7 separate regions of the Homo sapiens genome follow, and regions 2, 3, 4, 5, 6 and 7 are each linked to region 1. Evidence: promoter capture Hi-C in 16 types of primary human blood cells and fetal thymus (Javierre and others, 2016). All regions are on one chromosome and are shown on one strand. Each heading gives the region's core, a stretch centred on a gene start or on the middle of the fragment in contact. The rest is flanking DNA. Distances are from core to core; before and after follow the strand shown.

The links. Contacts are between HindIII fragments. The CHiCAGO score rates a contact against its expected background, and 5 or more counts as called.
Region 2: a fragment that was not itself captured here is called in contact with the fragment with the promoter of THSD7A in region 1 in 3 of 17 cell types (endothelial precursors, M2 macrophages and M1 macrophages); the score reaches 6.7 in endothelial precursors.
Region 3: a fragment that was not itself captured here is called in contact with the fragment with the promoter of THSD7A in region 1 in 1 of 17 cell types (endothelial precursors); the score reaches 9.2 in endothelial precursors.
Region 4: a fragment that was not itself captured here is called in contact with the fragment with the promoter of THSD7A in region 1 in 1 of 17 cell types (endothelial precursors); the score reaches 7.6 in endothelial precursors.
Region 5: a contact is called between a fragment that was not itself captured here and the fragment with the promoter of THSD7A in region 1, in 6 of 17 cell types (endothelial precursors, megakaryocytes, erythroblasts and 3 more). The highest score is 23.0, in endothelial precursors.
Region 6: a contact is called between a fragment that was not itself captured here and the fragment with the promoter of THSD7A in region 1, in 1 of 17 cell types (endothelial precursors). The highest score is 5.6, in endothelial precursors.
Region 7: a fragment that was not itself captured here is called in contact with the fragment with the promoter of THSD7A in region 1 in 1 of 17 cell types (endothelial precursors); the score reaches 6.9 in endothelial precursors.

The regions. Positions count from the first base shown.
Region 1 is chr7:11,830,550-11,833,614 of GRCh38, reverse strand. THSD7A (thrombospondin type 1 domain containing 7A) reads left to right here and starts at 1,417. Exons shown (of 28, transcript NM_015204.3): 1 at 1,417-1,858. The coding sequence starts at 1,669. RefSeq lists enhancers at 740-1,279, 1,280-1,820. The HindIII fragment of the contact is 6,451 bases long and covers 1-3,065 here.
Region 2 is chr7:11,404,013-11,407,089 of GRCh38, reverse strand. THSD7A (thrombospondin type 1 domain containing 7A) reads left to right here. Exons shown (of 28, transcript NM_015204.3): 21 at 35-180; 22 at 616-790. Among named protein-coding and RNA genes, the nearest start is that of THSD7A, 430 kb to the left of the region's middle. The HindIII fragment of the contact is 2,861 bases long and covers 299-3,077 here.
Region 3 is chr7:11,446,707-11,449,973 of GRCh38, reverse strand. THSD7A (thrombospondin type 1 domain containing 7A) reads left to right here. Exons shown (of 28, transcript NM_015204.3): 12 at 2,550-2,744. Among named protein-coding and RNA genes, the nearest start is that of THSD7A, 380 kb to the left of the region's middle. The HindIII fragment of the contact is 2,448 bases long and covers 785-3,232 here.
Region 4 is chr7:11,376,943-11,380,364 of GRCh38, reverse strand. THSD7A (thrombospondin type 1 domain containing 7A) reads left to right here. Exons shown (of 28, transcript NM_015204.3): 25 at 653-735; 26 at 1,085-1,295. Among named protein-coding and RNA genes, the nearest start is that of PHF14, 400 kb to the right of the region's middle. The HindIII fragment of the contact is 2,355 bases long and covers 362-2,716 here.
Region 5 is chr7:11,430,265-11,433,410 of GRCh38, reverse strand. The region is part of intron 13 of THSD7A (thrombospondin type 1 domain containing 7A); the gene reads left to right. Among named protein-coding and RNA genes, the nearest start is that of THSD7A, 400 kb to the left of the region's middle. The HindIII fragment of the contact is 1,168 bases long and covers 1,279-2,446 here.
Region 6 is chr7:11,554,719-11,557,998 of GRCh38, reverse strand. All of the region lies in intron 4 of THSD7A (thrombospondin type 1 domain containing 7A), which reads left to right. Among named protein-coding and RNA genes, the nearest start is that of THSD7A, 280 kb to the left of the region's middle. RefSeq lists a silencer at 121-220. The HindIII fragment of the contact is 5,711 bases long and covers 1-3,280 here.
Region 7 is chr7:11,514,224-11,517,417 of GRCh38, reverse strand. The region is part of intron 6 of THSD7A (thrombospondin type 1 domain containing 7A); the gene reads left to right. Among named protein-coding and RNA genes, the nearest start is that of THSD7A, 320 kb to the left of the region's middle. The HindIII fragment of the contact is 829 bases long and covers 916-1,744 here.

The sequences.
Region 1 (3,065 bases), core at 168-2,667:
TGTCAGAATACTTAAACAGGCAGGACCTGGGAATTATTTGATCAAACCCGCTTTTAATCTAATGCATGCAGAGGGGCTGTGTCTGGAAGGCTTTGCAAAATGACAAGGGTCCCAAGGGAGCCTTATGGAAGGTTTCCTCTTTCAGAAAGAGTAGCTTCCTCATCTTAAACTCTAGGGTAGCTATGTTGGAGTAAATTCATAAAAAGTAGTTTTCCTGCTTTTAAAATTTTATTTTATTTGGCTGAAAATTGCTGATGGGATAGTAGTTTTCTTTGGCTTTCCGTTTGCTGAATTTTTAATGGTTAAATGCCTACTATTTTAGCTTTACTGTGAAATGAATTAATAATAAAATATATTATTATTAGCTAAAGGGAGAAGGAGAAAGGGGAAAGCATTATCCGACTTCACACACATTCTTCTATTACTACTGGTAGAAGAAAGTGAAAACACAAAGGACAAAAGATGCAAACACATGTGGTTCCTTATTTAGATTGCGACAGGCATTTTGCTACAGTAAGAGTTAAGAAAAATCGGTGTCAGGGAAATTTTAAATGAAGAATTTACTAATTCCAAGATATCCAGACAGCATTACTGACTCAGTTTGACTCACAACTATCTGAATACTTAGAAGTAGCATATTTTTGAGGGAAAGAAGTAGATGAAGGGACAGAACTCTATACCTGAAATATAATTTTAATTTTAAGGGTTTTTTTTTTGTACAATTGTATTTATGTAATTAGGTAGCATTGCAAATACTCATTAACACTAATTCAGTTTTAAAGGCTATTAAAAGACAATTTAATTTGTCACAGAGCATCAATATTGCTCATATTTTTATTGATAATAGATTAAGTTAAAAACAACATTTAAAGAAGGGTTTAAGTGCATTTTGACAAGTCAACATTTCTGCTCTCGTGTTTTCACACCTGATCTCAAATACTGCTCCCCACACAAAGTAATTCAGAAGCCATGGCTTAAAAATAGATAATAAACACTGATGCTTTGTGTAAATACGTACTAAGAATAGCATGCCACTAGATCTAGCATTTGACTCCTTGGATGACAGTGAATATCAATGCCTGTTATTTGTCATTCTGAAATCTGCCGGGTGATGATTCTTTTTATTGGTGCATCCTTCCAAACATATTTCATCGCACCATGTGCACCGGAGTTCTTTAGGCGGGTATGTCGGAGGTGGGTGTCGCCTGGCTGGCCCCTCTCCCCTTTGCTCGCCCCCTTTCTCGCCCTCGCGCTCTCGCCTCCCTCTGCCTCCAGCCCCCTCTGCTCCTTTGGGCTCACGCCCCCCTCCTCCCCCTCCAGCTGGCGGGGGCTGCGCTGCCTCCCAGACCTAGCAGACCTGCTCAGTCAGCTGGGGCCCCCTGAGGACAGTTGCCTCCGGAGCCGCCGGGACCTGCCATTCTGCGAGGAATGGCAGCGGCAGCAGCATCCCCGCCAGAGGCGGCGGCGGCGGCGGCAGCGGCCACGGCCACCACCGCGGACGCTATTGTTCCCTGGTGTTAGACGCGCTCTCCCTCCTTCTCATCTGAAGCGAACAATAGCAGGAAAGAGCTTTGCTTTCTGTACTCTTTGAAAAGACGTTCCAAGAGCGGAGAAAAATTCCCTGCCGAGCGTGCTACGGCTCTGGACCCTGGAGTGGCTGCAGGCGGCATGGGGCTGCAAGCCAGGCGCTGGGCGTCCGGGAGCCGGGGCGCTGCGGGGCCGCGCCGGGGCGTCCTGCAGCTGCTGCCGCTGCCGCTGCCGCTGCCGCTGCTCCTGCTGCTGCTGCTACGCCCGGGCGCCGGCAGGGCTGCGGCGCAGGGCGAGGCGGAGGCGCCCACCCTCTATCTGTGGAAGACTGGTAAGTGGGACGGAGTTACCCTTTCCCCATCTTCACATCTGGGGCCACATTAAGGAGCTGGTGGGCTTCTGTAGGGACCCCGGTGCTTTTGGATGGCTTGGTTATGCTGGTATCCTAAGGTAAAAAGTATGATTTCTTAGGAAGCAAATAGGTCATGTCCGATGCAATTAGGAAAGAAAAGCATAACAACTAAGAGGCAACAGTGAGTAGCTGGAATATTTCTCTCGCAGCTCTGTAATGAGGGCAACGCGCACTTCCATGATGAAGTGCATTATTTTTAACCCCTGGATTTTCATTCTACTAGGAGTTTCTCAAACAGATTTCTAGCAAAGAACAAGCAAAGAGTTTAGTCTCAGTCTTTATTCTTTAGGCAAAGCAATATGCTCACTGTCATGACATTTGTGGATATAGAGTTGAATTTGTTAACTTTAGCTTTGTGATATGTGGGACACCTCAGAAACAAGCCAAGTGAGGGCGGTTCCAACAATTAAAGGCAAATGGGGCTCCAGTGAGCCTTCAGGGAAAGACTGAAAACTCAATTATTAACTAGCGAGTCGGAGGATTTTTAAAGTGTACAACTTTTAGGATGTCTGGGTTCAAACTTTCTCTTCCTTCCTTGAGAATTGTTTTGCTTTGTTTTTCAACCACCCAACAAAAGCAGCTACTAACTGCCCATCATTACCCATTGGCAAAATGCTTGGAGTTTCTGGCGGGGGCCGTGACAGGCAGGAAAACAATACGGAGTGAGGAATTACCAACCCCTTTTCTGCGGGTTCGCTTTCTCTCTGCATTAAAAAAACATTGAGAATTCCTTAGGGGACCTGAAACTTCACATGTTCATAGGAATAAAATGGGAAAAGATTATTCCTGTTGCTTAGAGCTAGGGGGTAATTTAAGAATAACTTGGTCATGCCAAACATTAAGAGAATGTTGTAGTTGAAAGGGAAAGTATGTATTCGTCATGGGGTTGCAAACAGGTTTCAGGGAGTGAGTGTCTTTTCCTGCTTCAGCCCATCTCTGCACCACTACTGAAGAGACAGCTCAGTCTACTCTACAATTGCATCACTATCGATATCTGGAATTTTTAAAGAAGTTGCAGCTATCCAGAAATTTAGTGAGGAGATTAAACAGAAATTTATTTAAAGTCAAAGTACACAATTTGTCTTAGAAGATTACATGAAACATATACACATTTTAAAAAGCAAGA
Region 2 (3,077 bases), core at 480-2,979, 430 kb after region 1:
ATATTAAAGGTGCATCACTTTGTATCTCTTCAAGGAAAAATGATCCGAAGACGAACAGTGACCCAGCCCTTTCAAGGTGATGGAAGACCATGCCCTTCCCTGATGGACCAGTCCAAACCCTGCCCAGTGAAGCCTTGTTATCGGTGGCAATATGGCCAGTGGTCTCCATGCCAAGTGCAGGTATCAAATCTCAAGAAGTTGTCAGGAAGTGTGTACTCTATCTGCAGAGACTTCATCTGCAGAAAAACATAAAAATAATGTGTTAGAAATATGTTTCAGAGCTCACAGATGACAAGCTTCTTAAAATTTGTATGTACTTGCCATTTTATAACCATTTAATTAGTTTTGATAACAAAAACTCCATGCCCTATATTTTTAAAATCATTTGGAGACTGATTCATTTTAATGAAAATTTATTTTCCTGTCTTTAGCTAGGAAACAAATTGTTCAATGTATGCTTTATTGCTAGTGCCCTATAGGGCTTCTTCCCTAGGGTTTCAAATCCTTCTCTAAATGTTCATAAATCAAAGTCAGTGGTGCAGAGATAACTAAGTGATGAGCTCTCTAATGAAGTATTTCTCTTTTTCTAATTAGTTATTTCTTCCTCCATTCCAGGAGGCCCAGTGTGGAGAAGGGACCAGAACAAGGAACATTTCTTGTGTAGTAAGTGATGGGTCAGCTGATGATTTCAGCAAAGTGGTGGATGAGGAATTCTGTGCTGACATTGAACTCATTATAGATGGTAATAAAAATATGGTTCTGGAGGAATCCTGCAGCCAGCCTTGCCCAGGTAACAACGGCAAAGGAGAATTCATATTCTGATTATTTTTTCCTAGGACAAGGGCCGTGAAGGGGTTGCATATAAAGTATAAGTTACAGGATGTCAACAGTCTTCTTATTCAGTAATATCTATGCCAACAGCTCAACACTATGCCTGTGGGGAACGGGACGCTGTCTCATTACTGCCAGGTAGGGTTGAAGTCCAGGTCTCCCATGTGGCCTCTCAACACCCTCTGGAGTTTTAACATCTGCAGGAGATGGTATTTAAGGCCTTAAGCCCATGCTCCACAGAAAAGTTATGAAATAAAAGATGAGAAAATAAGGACAAAACATAACCTATTCGGGATTTCCAGAAGAGAGAAAGAGAGGCCAATGTTTAAATACATAATGGCTAAAAACAGATTAAGTCCTCATAATAACAGCTTACCCTGGGTCCAGGGTAGAATGAACAACAAACTCATACCTAGATAAATGTAGTCAAAACATAAAATATAGAAAAATAATTAGTAAAGTCTTCAGTAAGAAAATAACAGATTATCTACAACTGGAAGACAAAATAGCAGTATGGAGGAAACTATTGAAAGATATTATTCAGATTCAGTGTTAGACACAATGAGTGCATGCAGTAAAAGTAGAAAGAAAATTTTGTTTATCAAATAGTATGGAAAAAATGGCAGACAGTGATAAGCTAATATTTATGAATTTGGGCTTGATGCAGAGAATTGTAGAGGAAATTTAATGTCAAAATATGCCAGAAAACCCATCCTTGAACAAGGTATAGATAGGGGCAACAATTTATTAGTGGACTGGAAATGAACAGATTGAAAATGAATTACCTGTATTTTATCCCCAAGTGGAAAATTTGTATTCTCCCAATTTGCTTATAATTATGATTTAAAGATTGCATCTCTTTCACAATATTTTCTTTTGAATGTGACCTCAAAATATTAAAAATTAAGGATTTGGCAAAAATAATGGGGCATAAAACACATTTTCTATATAAAAGGATGTGATTTAAGAAAATTTTAAAAGTGGATAACATATATCAACAAAAATTTGTAAATGGGATTGAGTCCCTAAAACCTGGAAAAACTGACATGGGCTAGCTATTTATTCACTCATCGAGTTACTTATTCCTTCGTAAAAAAAAAAAAAAATCATTTGAGATGATAAAAATGGTAGGGTATAGTTTAAGATGAACTGAATGAAATTGAACAGTAAATAAAATAACCCTGATAGGGGTTATTTTGAGGACAAGCCCCCTAGACTCTGAAAATATCCAACTATTGTATTGATCTTTGCACACATGGATATTTTCATCTACTTCAGGTCAAGAACTAAACTATTTTTAAAAACCAAAAATCTGAATAGCAGCTCCTTCTCAATGAGTGTAAAGGTTCAGCTATGCAAGGTGAATAAGTTCTAGAGATCCGTTCTAAGACATAGTGCCTGTAGTTAACAATACTGTATTGTATACCTAAAAATGTGTTAAGTGGGTAGATCTCATGTTAAATGGTCTTATCACAATAAAAAATAAAATAGAATAAAATAAAATTTAAAAATAAAGTAAAAGAAAAGAAAATCTGACTTTCTAAAGCCAGGCAAAGTGTTGCTGCCAACAACCTTTTGCTGAGCCAGCAATTCCCCTTTCACTTCCTGCTGCTGAAACTAGTCTGATATCATTTAAGATCTCACACACAATTCAATAAAATCATTTTGCTTCACTGCAGACCCAGCCTAAGGCTGTGGCAGCAGGTGACAGCTCCAGGCAGGGCCAAGGACTGAACCTTTGGACCTTGATGTACTGAATGGCCATAGAGGCAACAAAAAGTGACCCTTGGCTAAAAGTTGTAAGGCCTACTTTTCCAAAACCAAATCTCCAGCACCAGTAATAGGATTGTTGTGACATTCACACCATTGAGCAGAACGGGCATCCTTGTCAGACTGTGGTATATGCCTTACTATGGACACTCCTCACATGATTTCATTATACTTTCTGCAGCACACACACTCACTCATTTGACTGTTACTTATCAAATGTAATTACAGGTCAAGCCCTGGACTTGAGGCCAGAGATACAGTGCAGACCAAGAGACCCTGTCCTTGTACAGCTTACTTTCTAATGGAAAGAACAATTGCTAATCTAATAGTGACAATAATATATAATATATAAGATTATAACCTGTGGTAAATGATGTGAAGGAAAATTACAGGATCCCATGATAACATAGAGCAAACACATTGTTTTAATTAAAGTAATTGCAAATCTAGGAGGCTGCTCTTCTCTTCTAAATTAC
Region 3 (3,267 bases), core at 759-3,258, 380 kb after region 1:
TTTTCTTTTAGTTACAAACAGTGAAACCCTCTTCACAGCTTACGATTCTCATATGATCAGATGTCTTATTTTCCAAATATATCATTCTTGAGGCTCTTGCATGTCCTGATTAGTAAAAAGTTTAATATCTTTCTCTTTATCAATTTTTTTAGCATCCTTGGGGCAACTTTGTCCATGAACCATCGGCACTTACTAAGTTTAGAGTGTCTGAAAGGGTCAATCCTGCTTCCAAATGGCAGGTGTAGAAAGAACTTCAAAATCATAGCAGCTCGTTTATAGCCTGCATCTCGAGGATTTCTCCTACACTGTGTTACAGATGATGTTCTTCTAAACTATATGGATGTTCTTTTTTATCTATTCCCTGTACAAATTTCTATCATGCCCTTCCTTTGAACTCCAAGCTTAGAGCTCTTTCAGTTCATACAATGTTCAGCCATTGTTTCCCAAAGCTTGGCATGGTACCAGGCTGATTAGGTACCAAAGGATTTTCTGTCTTAGCCATATGTGTTTGCCAGAACCCTTCCTGTACCTTGAATACTCAAGCTGGTGGGTCTCAAACTTGAATCTGCGTAAGGATCACCTGAGCATCTTGAAAAAAATGCATATTCCTGACCCCATAGCAGGTATCTCATTATCTGGATTGGTCCAGATTATGGAACTCTTTTTGGGTCCAGGGATCTTCATGTTTAATAGCATTCTAGGTGTTTCTGATGCAGGTGAAAATATATTACCTACTAGAGCAGTAGTTCTCATATAGCTTGGATAATTAAATCATCAGAAAGCTTAAAAAGTATCCTAAATCCCAGGACCCCAACCTCAACCAGGGAAATCAGAGCATTAGAGTTTAGTAAGGGCATAGGTATTTTCCAAAGGTTATCCAGGGGATTATAATCTGCAGCCAGACATGAGAACCACCATCTTAGACTGCTATGATTAAACAGAGTACCAGATGTGTCCTCCCTCAAGGGGGTAGATTCTCTTTGAGACACTTAATGTTTTTTATTTGTTTCTGTCATCTAACCTTCATCAAGGCCAACACTGTTCACCCTACCAGGATTTTCATATTTTTAAAAATTTAGGGGCCCCTGTTCTTTTCTTACAAACTGGCCCTTCCAAAGTCAAGTCATGTGTACTAAATGAAAAGCACATCTAAAGCTAAGAAATAGGGAAGTGCATCCACAATTGAACAATTTAGAAGGGCCTTTTATGTTAGGCCTGAAGCAGTTGCATTAAGTTGTGTTCAACTACACAGAGAAAATCTTGCCTTGCTAAAATTGCTAGTTATGTCCATTTACACACTCTATTACAAAGCCCTGCACTCCTAGGCAATAGGTTTTAGTACACAGATCCAGACGGTGTTGTCTAACCTGAGGCCCTCTATGCCCTCACTGTAATTTAAGGTCAAAAACGTCAGGCTCCTTCACCTCGATTTCATGGTGATGGAATCCTGAACAGGGCAGAGATCAGCGGCAGTTTCAGCCTAGACCATAAACCTGAAAAAGCCAAGTAAATCAATCTGAATGAGGCCATTTAAGATAATTCAGTGAAGCCAACTTTAGGACCAAGGTTTAATGTTTCATCTGCTTCCTCAATAAGTGAGTTGTTTTTAAAACCAATGGAAAGGAAATGGCATAGGGAGAAAGTGGGCTTTAAACATGCTTGCTCTTTTTCTTTAAGACTTGTTACCATAAAACACTCATATGTATATGTTCAATAGGTAAAAATATTATTTCTCATTTTAAGTCAGCAGAACAATATCATAGGCGAAATAATTTTTATGAATTTAAACTTTGATTTTTTAAATTTATATGTAATTTTAGAACTACAAATTTTAACATAATAAATGAAGATTATTGAAAATTTTTAAGTGCCAGGTTGATGTTTGTGCATGTGAAGAACTTGTAGAAAGAGGAGATGGAGGACTTTGACATTGCTTATCCATTAATGATTCCAACCCTTCCTAATAAACTTGAAATGTAATACAGTGAACATACTTCCCATGCCAATGCAGTTTCAAGATAAGTTCTATAAGCACACCTTCCTGACCCCAAACTCCAACCTACCAACCAGCTTTCTGCCACTAAAACACTTCTATAAAGGAATTCTAGGGTGTCCAATGATATAAAACAATATTAGATATACCTAGTATCTTCCAGTCCCTCTCCAAACACCCTATGCTCAACATAAGCTATTATCAGAACCCACGTATGGTTTGTCTTACATTCTTACAAATTTATTTCTAAATATACCCTACATGTGACATGAATTGAAACCCTGAATACATATAATTAAAACTGGTAAATGCTAAGTATGCATATGTGTCCACTTTTCTGTGCCACAAAAATCACTCAGGGTTGTGTGTTATTTTTAAAAATAACCAATTTAATGGCTACTGGGATTATTAGAAACACTCCTATAAGATTTCTACTGTAAGTAAGGAACTACAAGAGGCTTTCTCTGACTGCTTAACCAAATGTTAGGTTAGCTTCTAAATTATAGAGTAATTAGACGTTTGAATTTGTTATAACAGCTTTATGCTTTTCTTTTAGCCATTACTTGTCGCAAGCAAGATGGAGGACAGGCTGGAATCCATGAGTGCCTACAGTATGCAGGCCCTGTGCCAGCCCTTACCCAGGCCTGCCAGATCCCCTGCCAGGATGACTGTCAATTGACCAGCTGGTCCAAGTTTTCTTCATGCAATGGAGACTGTGGTGCAGTTAGGACCAGAAAGCGCACTCTTGTTGGTAAGAATAATTGGGATGCCAAAGCCAGTACACGTCAAAGTAGAGGAACATAATACAAGTCAGACTGAGAGAATTCTGACAGTGTATTTGAAAAATAATATGCCAATGGATTTAGATGTATATTTTAAATTTAGCTGGCAGTGATAAAAGCATTATGTACTTTTAGTAAAAAGAAAAGGAAGGCTTGAAAATTGAACTCTGACTCCCTATATAATATGCAGTGGATTATTTTCTGGTGTAGACATAATCTTTTAGTGGACTGCCTGCAGACTGTAAAGTGCTTGGAGCAAAGTTTTTGGGGAACAAGAGAAAAAGTTGCTACTTTGTTAACCCATTCTCACTGTCAGAGCCTCAGATTATCCTTTCTCACCTAGAAGGGGGAATATAGCATTAATTCTGTATCTGAAAATTGTATTTTAAACCATAGTAATGACTAACAGCATGAATATAATGAGCAGGATTAGGATCCATCACTCTGAACTAAAGCTTGGTGCATTTGAAATATTGCCAATGGCAAAAGCAA
Region 4 (3,422 bases), core at 290-2,789, 450 kb after region 1:
TTCCATCTTAAAACCTCACTTGAGACAAATTAGGCACAGTTGGTACTACACTTGAAAATAAACGAGATAAACAGCTGTAATATCAAGTTAAAACCATAGTGCAAAACAAATGATTTCGTAGATACATTTGTTTTCTTCTCTATATCCAAAAAACACCATGAATTAGCAGAAATTGTGACTTTTCTGAAAAAGAAATATGCATTATTTAAAGAAAACATTTATTTAACATAAAGAGCTGAAGAGTTATTTCAAAGTACGTGAAAACTATTGTTTTGAATCTCCAAGAAAGAATTTTAACTTGAAATGAAATCAGCTTTTCAATTGCTGGACTTGGATTCATGTGCTCCTGACAGAAAAAGCTTGTGTGCAATTAGTATTTTCAAAATAGCAGCTATAAAATCATTCTTTCAACAAATGCTTGTTGAATACCTGCTGAGTACCAGGCACTGAGCTAGCTCCCCTGGGTAAAAAGGGCCTGGAGTCACTACATAAGGTGGTCAAGGTTAACCAAATATTTCACAGTCAACCACTGACAGAAAAATTCCTGGGATTCCCAAGGTGGTTCAAGATTCAAAGACAAGTCACTAACCACAGTGTATTTTCATCATAGCAAAATATATTATTTGTCAAAACATGATTTTCTGTTCCGCAGGGGGCTGCTTGGTGATGAGCCAGCCTGATGCCGACAGGTCTTGTAACCCACCGTGTAGTCAACCCCACTCGTACTGTAGCGAGGTATGTGAAAATTCATCAGGGCAGACAAGCCAGCTCCATCATGTGTCACCCCACTGTCTCTTATGCAGTTTATCTTCCTCCAAAGAAAGCATGTCTTGAGGCATAAAAATCCCATTTTAGACATCTCCTTTTATCAATCTAAAAAGTCCTGACTTCACTTGCTTTCACCTTTAGAATACATTTTCATATAATGCCAAAAGTATGTTTCTTTGTAGTTAAAAATAATAGAGGAATTATGTATAGTAATTCCCAAAACAAACCTTGTTTAAAGCCTTCTCTTCAAGTCAGGTCTGTTAGACTTCCAAAGATTCCTTGCATGGCTAGTATAAATCTTCTTGTTCTCCTGCAGACAAAAACATGCCATTGTGAAGAAGGGTACACTGAAGTCATGTCTTCTAACAGCACCCTTGAGCAATGCACACTTATCCCCGTGGTGGTATTACCCACCATGGAGGACAAAAGAGGAGATGTGAAAACCAGTCGGGCTGTACATCCAACCCAACCCTCCAGTAACCCAGCAGGACGGGGAAGGACCTGGTTTCTACAGCCATTTGGGCCAGGTGAACTGACTAGACTAGTGTTGAAAGAGAAACCTTTAGTTCTTTTAGGCAATGCCAAAGGATTAAAAAAGTGAGCAAAGCATTTTTATATGAGCTATTGATTATTTTATCTACATGCATTTATTCTGATAGTGCCATCTATTCTTCAATTTTTTACTATCATTATGGAAAATAACTCATGTTTGAAGTTCAGAGAAATGAAATTACATTCTTCTGAGAAAAAATTTTGGATCAATATAATTCAATTCAATTCCAGTCCAAAAATTACAAGTATAATTAATTTCAAATTGAACAAAGTTAGAAACATGAATTTTAAAAAATGTGTTGTCATTCAGAACTAGGATAAAGGAGACTATAAAGACATTCCAGAATTTTTCATTTGATCATAGGAACAGTAATAGTTTGACCCTTAAATAAAAACATCACTAATGCAGTTCTGTGCCAGGGCACACGTGGTAGCTAGACCAGTTTCTATTAGCCCTAAAAGTCAGCATACTCAAATACTTGGAATCTGTACTAGTGCCAGATAAACAGGGAGACAATGGAGCCTTCCCTTCTGGATAGGATGATCCAAATTTGTTTTCACATTCACAGACAGCTCTTAATGTATCTGGTAATAAATGCAAAGCCAATACAGGCAAATGCTTGAATACCTCATGATATGCTATTCTCTACTCTGCACACTTTCCCTCCTCAGTTGGATTTCATCATATGCTCATCCCTAGAACTAACCTGGTGCTTGAAAATGTGCTACATGGATTATAAAGCAGCTAATATGCCACTTTTTCTCACAACCTGGAAGAACTACTAGTCTATGAAGTAATCTCCAGGCAGAGCCAGGCATAGTCTACTTTAAAATGCCATTAGAAACATGAGAAAAGATGGAAGGAATCTGCATAGCTAGCACATCTCCATTTCTATGCATTAAGTCTGAATACTTTCCCTTATTGGAGAATAAATATTGGATTTTTAAGATATTTTAAGTGTTTGGGTGATTTGCTTTTAATCACATTATTCCTGCTTTAATTGGCTTATTTAGCTGATAGTATGATTTATTTTGCAAAGCTGACTTATCTGTGTAAGCATGGGAAACTCTTCCCTCAGTGTTTAAGACAATGGACTAGCAGACAACCAGTAGCAATTTTGACCTTCACTAAGAATTGAAGCAGATCTCCTCAGATCAAAACCAGTCCTTTTGAAAAAAAAAAGAATATTATTGTCATTATTTTAAATTTTATATATAGTTTCCCCAAAGTTAAAATTTTAAAATATTTAAAAGGTGCATGTTCTGAAAACTTAGATATTCTTTGATTTTGAAAAACCCCAAAAAACATTTGTTGAAGAAACTCTCAACAGAGATCCTCAATCGTGGAACAGCTCTTTTGATTCTAAACTGAGCTCAAATTTAAAAAATGAAAGCTTTAGGATTAGAAAGAAAGGATATTTAGAATATTAATTGAGTTTATTCCCAGCAAATGAACCTCTAACTTGATCTAACTCCGGGCAAAAAAATTCCACAGTACCAATTTCCATTTGATGCCTTTCAAATATTGAATAAACCAGAGTCTGTGTGAGGTCAATTTTGCCCAATCTATAATTTTAACACTAAGATCAAATATTTAATTGCAACAGAAAATATATGTTGATGTGAGGATCAAATTAAATTAGCCAATATCATTAATAACATCTTGTGCTTGAAGTTTATTCGGAGCATAGAACTGAGGAGTTCAAAGATGAGACCAGAAACCCAAATTACAAAAGTTCCTGTTATGTCTGATTCCATATAATAGAAAAGGTAGAAAAAAAATTATTTATAGATCCTTTTATATGTTAACCAAACCAGTTGTTTTTGAAAATGACATTGTCAGCCAATTTTAAAACACATTGTAAGTGCAGACTAGATAAAAGATTATTAATTCCATAAAATCTTAAATATATTCACTTTCATTTTACCTGGAATAAAAATGACAAAGTTTTTGTTTAAATACCTATATGCATTAACTCGAGTTTGTAGAAACTTTCTTAAAATTGCATTTTTCATCTTTTCTTCTCATTGCAATTCTCAAAATACACTGAAAATCAGAAGAGAATGTTTATATAGCATTACACATGTATTGAGTTTGAAGT
Region 5 (3,146 bases), core at 613-3,112, 400 kb after region 1:
ATTAAACTATAACTTATTTAAAGAAAATAAGTGATTACTGGCCCTAAAATAAGAAGAGTTATTTTTTGGGCATCTCATACTATTTTAGGTCAATTAATTTACTGCCTCAGCTGTAGGAAAAAAGGCATTTGAAGTATATTTCAACTCAGAATCATGAAGGGGCTTATTTCTCCACCCCAAAGCATAATTAAAGTCAAAATGTAAGATTTAAGTAGATCACTGCAATCTATTTTAAAATTTCAGTAACACTACTGTGAAATATTCCTTTAGTTCTTTGTTGGACTTTCCTCTGGATCATTATCGATACTCCAAAAGTCATCTTGAATATATGAGAAGTACATTAGAAACTTAGCAGTGGCATCTTCTTTCTGTCTTCTATGTCTCACAACAAACAAAATCCCAACTCTGCCACATCTGCCCTCCAGAAGATTATCTGGGACTAATGCCCACTTTCAGAACTTTTCATTGTATCCTAATCTTCATGCCAAATTTGTGATCCCATTTTTTAAAATTTATTTTATACTTCATTTACAATGGATAATATAATATACATACCATCCAATTTATCCATTTGTCTCCTAGGAGTACACCAAACAGAAATACATACATATGTCCATCAAAAGACACATTCTAGAATATTCATAGCAGCACTGTTAATAATGGCCCCATATTGAAAACTACCTAAATGCCCACCACCAATAGAATGAATAAACAAGTCATAGTATATTCACACAATAGAATGCTACACATCAACCAGAATAAACAATATTCAGCAATATGCACCAACGTAGATAAAACGCATATCACAATGTAGAGTGAAAAGGCTAGCACAAATGGATATAAACTATATGATTCGATTTACATGAAATTTTTAAAAAGTAAAACTATTCTACACAGTGAGTAGTCAGGATAGTTGTTGCTCTTGTAAGAAGGGGCAGTGGCTGCAAGGGAATACGGAGGAGAGTTCTGGACTATTGATTTCAGGGGTGTGTTCAGTGAAATTTACGTCTATGGAAAATGCACTTTTGCATATGAAGACTACAATACGAAGTTTAAAACAAATATCTTTGACAAATGTATAGGAGATACTACATAAAAAGATATGCCAGAAATCTATTTATCTTCCATTTTTTTTGGTTCTGTCTGTATCTTATAGTAGCACTTCCTAACTTAAGACCTACACAATCACACACACAAATGATTAAAAGTAAAGCTTGTGAAACCTGAGTAAGTGCTATGGATTGTATTAATGTCAATAACTTGAGGGTGGTAGAAGCTTATGTTTTTAACATGTGTCTCAGATAATTTATGATTAGGCAAGGCTAGGAAATACTGTATAGTAAATTAGTATTTTAACACTTTCAATACAGGACAGTTTGGGCACAATCTTATAGATTAAATTTGCCATTTTGGTTTAAAGGTGGTCTGACTTTCCTTTAATTAAAGAAATTAATGTTGGTAGGTTCTTTTTAAAATCCACCTACAATAAAAAGAATAAAATACTTAGGAATAAATATAACAAAATAAGTTCAAGACCTGTACACTGAAAACTACAAAACATCATTGAAAGAAATTAAAGATCTATATAAATGGAAATGAATTCCATGTGTCTGAATTAAGACGGCAGTGCTTCCAAGTTGATCAACAAATTTGACACAATTCCTATCAAAATCCTAGCTGCAATTTTTTGCAGAAATTGACAGTCTAATTCTAAAATGCATATAGAAGTTTGACTCAAAATAGCCAAACCTATCTTTAAAAGGAAAAACGAAATAGGAAGACTCACACTTCTGGATTTCAATACTTGCTTCAAAGTTACAGTAGTCAAGACTATGTGGTACTATCATGAAACTAGACATGGAGATAAATGGAATAGAATTTACAGTTCAAAAATAAATCGTTACACTGTGGTCAACTGATTTTCAACAAGGGTGCCACAACAATTAGGAAAGAACAGGTTTTTTCAACAACTGAAGACAGGATAACTCAATAACCACATGCAAAAGAATGAAGTTGGACCCCTACCTTTTATCATAAACAAAAATTCACTCAAAATGAAACATACACCTAAATATAAGAGCTAAAACTATTAAATTCTCTTGAGAAAACAACTATAAACCTAGATGACCTTGACTTTGGTAGTGGATTCCTAGATATAATACCAAAGCACTAACAACCAAGGAAAAAAGATAAACTGGACTTCATTGACATTTAAAACTTTTGTTCTTCAAACAACACCAAAATTTTAGAGACAATAACAAGTTTGACAAGAATTCATAGAAATTGGAACATGCGTGCATATCTGGTGGAGTATAAAGTGCTGCAGTCATTTTGGAAAACAGTTTGACACTTCCTGAAAAAGCTAAGTGAGTTACCACATAACTGAGCAATTTCACTGTAATGTATATATTCAAGGGAATTGAAAATGTATGCCCACACAGAAGCTTGTAAACAAATGTTCATAGCAGCATTATTCATGATAGACAAAAAGTGAAAACTCAAATGTCCATTAACTGATGAGTGGATAAACAATGTGAAATGTCCATACAATGAAATATTATTCAATCATAGAAAGGACTGAAGAACTGATACATGCTATAACATAAATGAACCTTGAAAACATTATACTAAGTGAAAGAAGCCAAGCCAGGCATGGTGGTTCACACCTGTAATCCCAATATTTTGGGAGGCCAAGGATCACTTGAGGCCAGAAGTTCCAGACCAACCTGAGCAACACCGTAACACCTCATCTCTATAAAATATATATATATATGAAAATTCGCCTGGCATGGTGGTGGGCACCCTTAGTCCCAGCTCAGCTACTTAAGAGGCTGAGGTAGGAGGATCTCTTGAGTGCAGGAGGTCAAGGCTGCAGTGAGCTATGATGACACCACTGCACTCCAGCCTGGGTGACAGAGTGAGACATCTCTAAAACAAAAAAGAAATAAGATCACATAATGTTTTACTTCATTTATATGAAATGTCTAGATTAGGCAAATTCATAGAGATAGAAAGTAGATTCATGGTTGTCAGGGGATGAGGAAGGGGAAAGTAGGAAGTGGCTGCCAGTAACCATAGGGTTTATTTTTGGAGTAAAACAAATGTTCTAAAATTAGATGGTGATGATGGTTGCACAACGCAGCAAA
Region 6 (3,280 bases), core at 660-3,159, 280 kb after region 1:
ATTTTAGACAATAACCACTCTACCCAGCCAAAAACACACAAAAATAACATGGCCATACCCTCACCCATATCAGCAAAGTCGTGATGGGAACCTCAGTTTTCACCCTTGTGATACTGTAATGAGTCGCTCAACACTCCCACTAGGTGGTGTTAGAGAAGGCCAAGTAGGGAACTGACACTTCCATCACTGCTAGTTGCTATCTGGTAAAGCACTCCCCACCCCCACAATGTTAGTGAAGACAATTAGGCAACCAGTACACACAGCCACATAAAAGTAACTAGAAGTTCCTCTTTGTTATCAATGGAGGTTAAATAAGAAACCTGGACTTCTGCCTTCACCTTGCAGTAACAATGTGGCATACATACACCCTTTTGCCATTCTGGAGCAGGGTCATAAAAAGCCAGTTAGAAAGAAGAAAAGGATTTTAAAAGATCTAGAGTCTTGTGACATGAGGCAAAAATGTCTGGGTTTCAATCAAAGTCACTCCTTATGCCAAGAACCAGGGAGTTACCAGATTCAACGAAAAAAATAAATAAATAGCAGCCAACACTGAGATGATGAAGATGTTAGAATTATCCAACAAGATATAAGGAAGCCATGATGAAAATCTTTCAACAGTTATGAGCATGTTTGAAACAAATAGAAATCTTCAGCAAATTAATTGAAGATGTAAAAAAGAACCAAGTAGAAACTGCAGATCTGAAAAATGCAATAACAGATATAAAAACTCTGTATACGGGTCTAACAGCATAATGGAGGGGAGAGAGGAAAGAATCAAAGAACTAAAATACAGAATAATCAAAATTACCTAATCCGAACAACACAGAAAAAAATATGAGGGAAGAAAACTAAAAGTATTTCAGAGACCTGTGGGACTGTAACAAAAGATCTAACATTCATGTCATTGGAATTCCAGAAGAAGAGGAGAAAGAGGGCAGAGCTTAAAAGAAAAAAAATGTATTCAGAGAAATAATGGCTGAACACTTCTCATATGTTGTAAGAAGCATAAACCTACAGATTCAAGAAGCTGGATGAATTCCAAATAAGTTAAACCTGAAGAAATACATGCCAAGACATATTATAATAAAAATCTGAAAACGAAAGATAAAAGTATTTGAAAGCATCCAGAGAAAATTGATAACCTTACTACAAGAAAAAGAAATTTGAGTGACAGTGAACCAGAAACCATATAGGTCAGAATAAAGTACTACCATATTTTTCAAGTGCTAGAGGAAAAGAACTGTCAACTTGCAATTCAATACTCAGAGAAAATATCTTTCAAGAATGAAGGAAAAATAATGACATTCTTAATGAAGGAAAACTAAGAGAAGTTGTTACCAGTAGACTTACCCTAAAAGAATAGCTAAAGAAAGTTCACTAAATAAAAACGAAAGATTAAAGGAAGAAACCTTGGAATATCAGGAAAGGAGAAAGAGCGGGTAAACAAAGTATAGCTAAATACAATAGGCTTTTCTTCACTTGAGTTTTCTAAATTATATTTGACAGTTGAAACAAAAATTATAACACTGCTACCTGATATGATTCTAAAAATACGTAGACGATATATTTAAAACAATTTATTACAAATGAGGGAGGGTAAGATTTCTATACTTTAGTTGAACTAGCAAAATGAAAATATCAGTAGGCTGTGATAAGATATATATATATAGTATATCTTGTATATATATGTACATATATACACATATACACATACACACCCATATATATGACATATATATGTAATGTAATATCTACAGCAAACACTAAAAGAGCTATAGAAGGACATGCACTCAAAAACACTGTAGATAAATCAAAATGGTATTCTAAAATGTGTTAACTCACAGGAAGACAGGGAAAATGAAACAGAAATGAATAAATAAAAATAAATAGAAGACTTAGTCCATAACATATAAATAACTACATTAAATGTAAATAGTCTAAGTATACTAATTAAAACACAGATTGGTAGAGCAGATTTAAGAAGCAGGACCCAACTATTCACATTCTACAAGAAACTCACTTCAAATATAATGTTATATGCAGGTTTAAAGTAAAATAATGAGAAACTGTGTGTCATGAAAATGTTATTCAATGGAAGCAGGAGTGGCTATGATAACATCGAATAAATTAGGCATCAAAGCAAAGAAAATTACCAGAGACAGAGAAAGATATTATATAATTATATAATGACAAAAGAGTCAATCCACCAAGAAGGCAAAGGAATTCTATGTGTTTGTGCCAAACAACAGACTGCAAAATATATGAACAAAAACTGATAGAACTGAAAGGAGAAATAGACAAAACTGTAATTGACAAATAGATAATTGTAGTTGGAAATGACAATACCTTACTCCCAACACTTCATAGAATAATTAGGACGAAAATCAGCAAAAATACGGAAGAACTCAGTACCATCAACCAATAAAATCTAAAAGGGATTATTATAATTACTCCATCCAACAACAGCAGAATTCACCTTCTTTCAAGTGAAACATATACCAAAATAGACCATGTCATCATCCATAAAACATAGTTCAACAAATGTAAAATAATTTATAGAGTGTTCTCTGAGCACAATGGAATCAAATTAGAATTCAATCAAAAAAGATAGGAGTAAAATCTCCAAACACTTGGAAAACAACACACTTCTAAACAATCAATGTGTGAAAGAGGAATTCTCAAGGAAAATCAAAATACTGGATGAAAAGAAAATATATCAAAATCTGTGAGGCATAGCTAAAGCAGTGCTGAGATAGACATTTGTAACACCAAATGCTTACATTGGAAAAGAGGATAAGACACAAATCAATAATCAAAGCTCCCATCTAGAGAACCAAGAAAAATGGGAGTGAAATGAGTTGAAAGCAAGAAGGAAAGAAGTAAATAATAAACATAAGAACAGAAATCAATGAAATTGAAAATAAAAAATAGAGAAAAACCAATAAAACAAACAGCTGGTTCATTCAATAGATCATTAAACCTCTAGCAAGGGTGATAAAAGAAAAAAGAAAAAACACAAATCACCAACACCAGGAATGAAATAGGGAAATGTCACTACACACTTTACAGACATCAAAAGGATAGCCATGGAATACCTCAGACAACCTGATACACATAAATTTGACAACTTAGACTACATGGGAAGAATAAAAAAATCAAAATAAATTGCAACCTACCACAACTCATCTAATATGAAATAGAGCATTTCTACACAGAAAAAAAGAGGCAACAAAGGCACTGACAGTTCACCAAAAAGAAAAATACAGACCAAAATGCCTCA
Region 7 (3,194 bases), core at 81-2,580, 320 kb after region 1:
AAAATGTAGTTTTGTGATTTTTTAAAAATAATGATATGGGGGCCGGGCATGGTGGCTCACGCCTGTAATCCCAGCACTTTGGGAGGCCGAGGTGGGCGGATCACGAGGTCAGGAGTTCAAGACCAGCCTGGCCAACATAGTGAAACCCCGTCTCTACTAAAAATACAAAAATTTAGCTGGGCATGGTGGTGGGCACCTGTAATCCCAACTACTCTGGAGGCTGAGGCAGGAGAATGGCATGAACCCGGGAGGTGGAGGATGCAGTGAGCCAAGATTGTGCCACTGAACTCTAGCCCAGGCAAAGGTGAGAGACTTGATCTCTAAAATAAAATAAAATAATGATATGGAAGTATTTATATGTTCTCTTGCTTAAACAATTGGACCTATGAATGTGACAGATGGCAATGCGTATTACATATACAATTATTTTGATAGGAAAAATACTATTATTTTCTCTTTTATTTCATTGCATCATGTAAAGGCTCTGTCTACATGACCATGACTGCAATTCTGGTAGGCGATGGCAATATAGTGATGTATATGTCCTTTTCTTACCAAAAATACTAATGGCATTACATGACAATTGGTGCCATATCCCTGAATTCAAGCTCATTATTTAATACACCTGGTGCCTCCTATGAAATTATTAAATATATCCTTATTTTCAAATAACATTTTATATTTAATCCTTTAAAATGCAATTTAAATTCAGCTTTTCTGTAAAGGATAGTTTTATGGAGATTTATATTGTTAGCAAATAGCAAATTTTTTCTTAAAGAGAAAGCTTTACAGATAAGAATTTAAAGCCAAAATGTTATTGACAGAATTTCACACTGAAGATGGATGTTGGCATTGACTGCTGTACAAACAAGGTCATCTCTGCACACAGGCAAGGTCAATGGGCTTTTGGAAGCTTCCTTTTATAGGAAGATGGGGATGAGGCACTATAATATAGCCATGAAGTACACTTCAGTAATTTTTCTTCTGGCAGAGCTAGCTGATCAGTAGTAGGTCATCTAGAATCGTGAATGAGTTCTCACCAAATCATTCCTCGGGTACACGGACATTAGCTTAATCAATAACCATACTTATCTTGTATTCTGCCTTGTTTCAAAAATGGGTCAATGCATTAGTTTAAAATTTCTGATTTTGTAAGTGCATTTTAAGTATTTATGTATGTATTTTATGAGGGCAATTTAGCTTTTGGGTTTGAACCTATTTGCAGTAAGTTCAGTAAATTAACTACATAAGTATTATACTTTATTACAGGTTTTATTTATTACAGCCAGAATACAACTTAAAATAAAGATGCACACAAATAATAGCTCCTAGAAATCTCAAATTTAGAAAGGAAAACGGAAAAATCACTTTTAAAAATGATCACAACCAAAAGTTCTCATATTTATATAGTTTAAACATGTTTCATTCACTATTTATTCATTCACAGTATACTTTAAATCATGATTGATAGTGCTACTTGAAATATTTTGACAGGCTTTTAACTGAGTTTGGGCAGTCACAGTTATGAAGTCACAACTCACTTAGCCAAAGCAGTACTCCTTGTTTCTTCTCAGTAACTTGTGAGCTTATATCCCTGGATAGTAAGATACAACCAAGATATTATGTATGTAAATCATTGCCATAGATGTACTAAAAAGACTACTAAAATATGAAATGTGAAGTCTAGGTCTTGTTCTGCCACTTACTATAAAACATGGGCTGTCTTTTCTCCCCATCACAAGCTTGGTTTATTTATCTCTAAAAATATATATATAAAAGATCTCTGTAGCTTTAATTTTCTATGACAATAGCTGTGTGTTTGGTAATAAATCTAGCTAGATGCAATGAGTTATTTTCATAATCAGTAGATGATGAGTTAAATTTTTATATTATATAAATAGATCATAATTAATTGTTGATATTGTGCTTATTTATGGCACTATGGATTATTAAATTATCTGCCTTGTGCATTTACAGAGTCTTCTTTCAGCCAAAAGGTAGGTTTGCTGTCTGAAGTCAAGTTGAACATTGTCAAAAGCCAGAGTTAAATAACAAGTAGAAAAGTGGGATAAATTCACCATCATCATCTCTTACAGTTGTTCCATAGCAAACTTGTTGAAGCTGTGAATATTCAGTTAAAGTATCACAGACCTAGCAAGTAACATTAATATTCTGAGAGGCTAATAAAGGTTGATACAGAGTCTAATGAATAAATTTTATTGTTTGAACAGGAACTAAAATCATAGTGAAATGTTTCCATTTTTAGATGAAAGCATGTATTTTAATTGTTTTTGATAGGATGGGCTCAGATGTGATTTCCCATTAGTTACATGTAAAATTTATTTCTAAAGTTAATATTTGCATAAAATCATTTATCACTTATGCCACTCAAAGCAAAAGAAGACGGATTCAAATGAGTATAAATTTGAAACAACAAGTGATCTTCTGAACAGAAAGATCCATCTTCTTAGGTTAGAAATGGAGTAACAGAAGGCACTGTCACTGAAGGTGGAGCACCCCTACAAATATTAGTGGTTCTTAGTTTTGGAGCTTTCGTGCAGTCATAGTAAAATGTTTCTATGTTCTTCCAAAGAATAGAGTAATAATCTTGAAAGGAGAAAGCAAGTACAGTCATTTATTTTTAATTAAGCAACTAATAAAGTAAGCACACGTAGTATTGTTTAATATTACTGAATAATTATACTGCTAACCTGTTGAAAAATTTTGTGAAATATTTGATGCATGTTAAAGATTGCATGCAATATTATATATCATAAATCTTAAAGACAAAAAACACTTATTTAAAATGTTATCCAATTAAATAAATAGAAAATATATAGAAATTTACTCATAAAATTGAAACTCCTAGACCCCTCATGATCTCCTCCTTCTCTTTTCTCCTCAAGCCCTCTCCAGAGTGAATCTCTAAATGAATTTTGTGTTTATCATGATGGCTTTGACACATATATACGTGTGTCTAAACATATCATGTTTACTTGTTTTGGAACTTTATATACAAAATACTCATTTATTCAACAAATATTAACTGACTGGCTACTCTGTGCCAGGCACTGTTTTAGATGTAGAGGGTATAACAGGATTTAAATAATGTATCTGTCTTCATGGACCTTACATTGTAGAAGAGAAATAGGCAATAAATGAGTAAACAAGTAAAATATAATGTGTCAAAACAA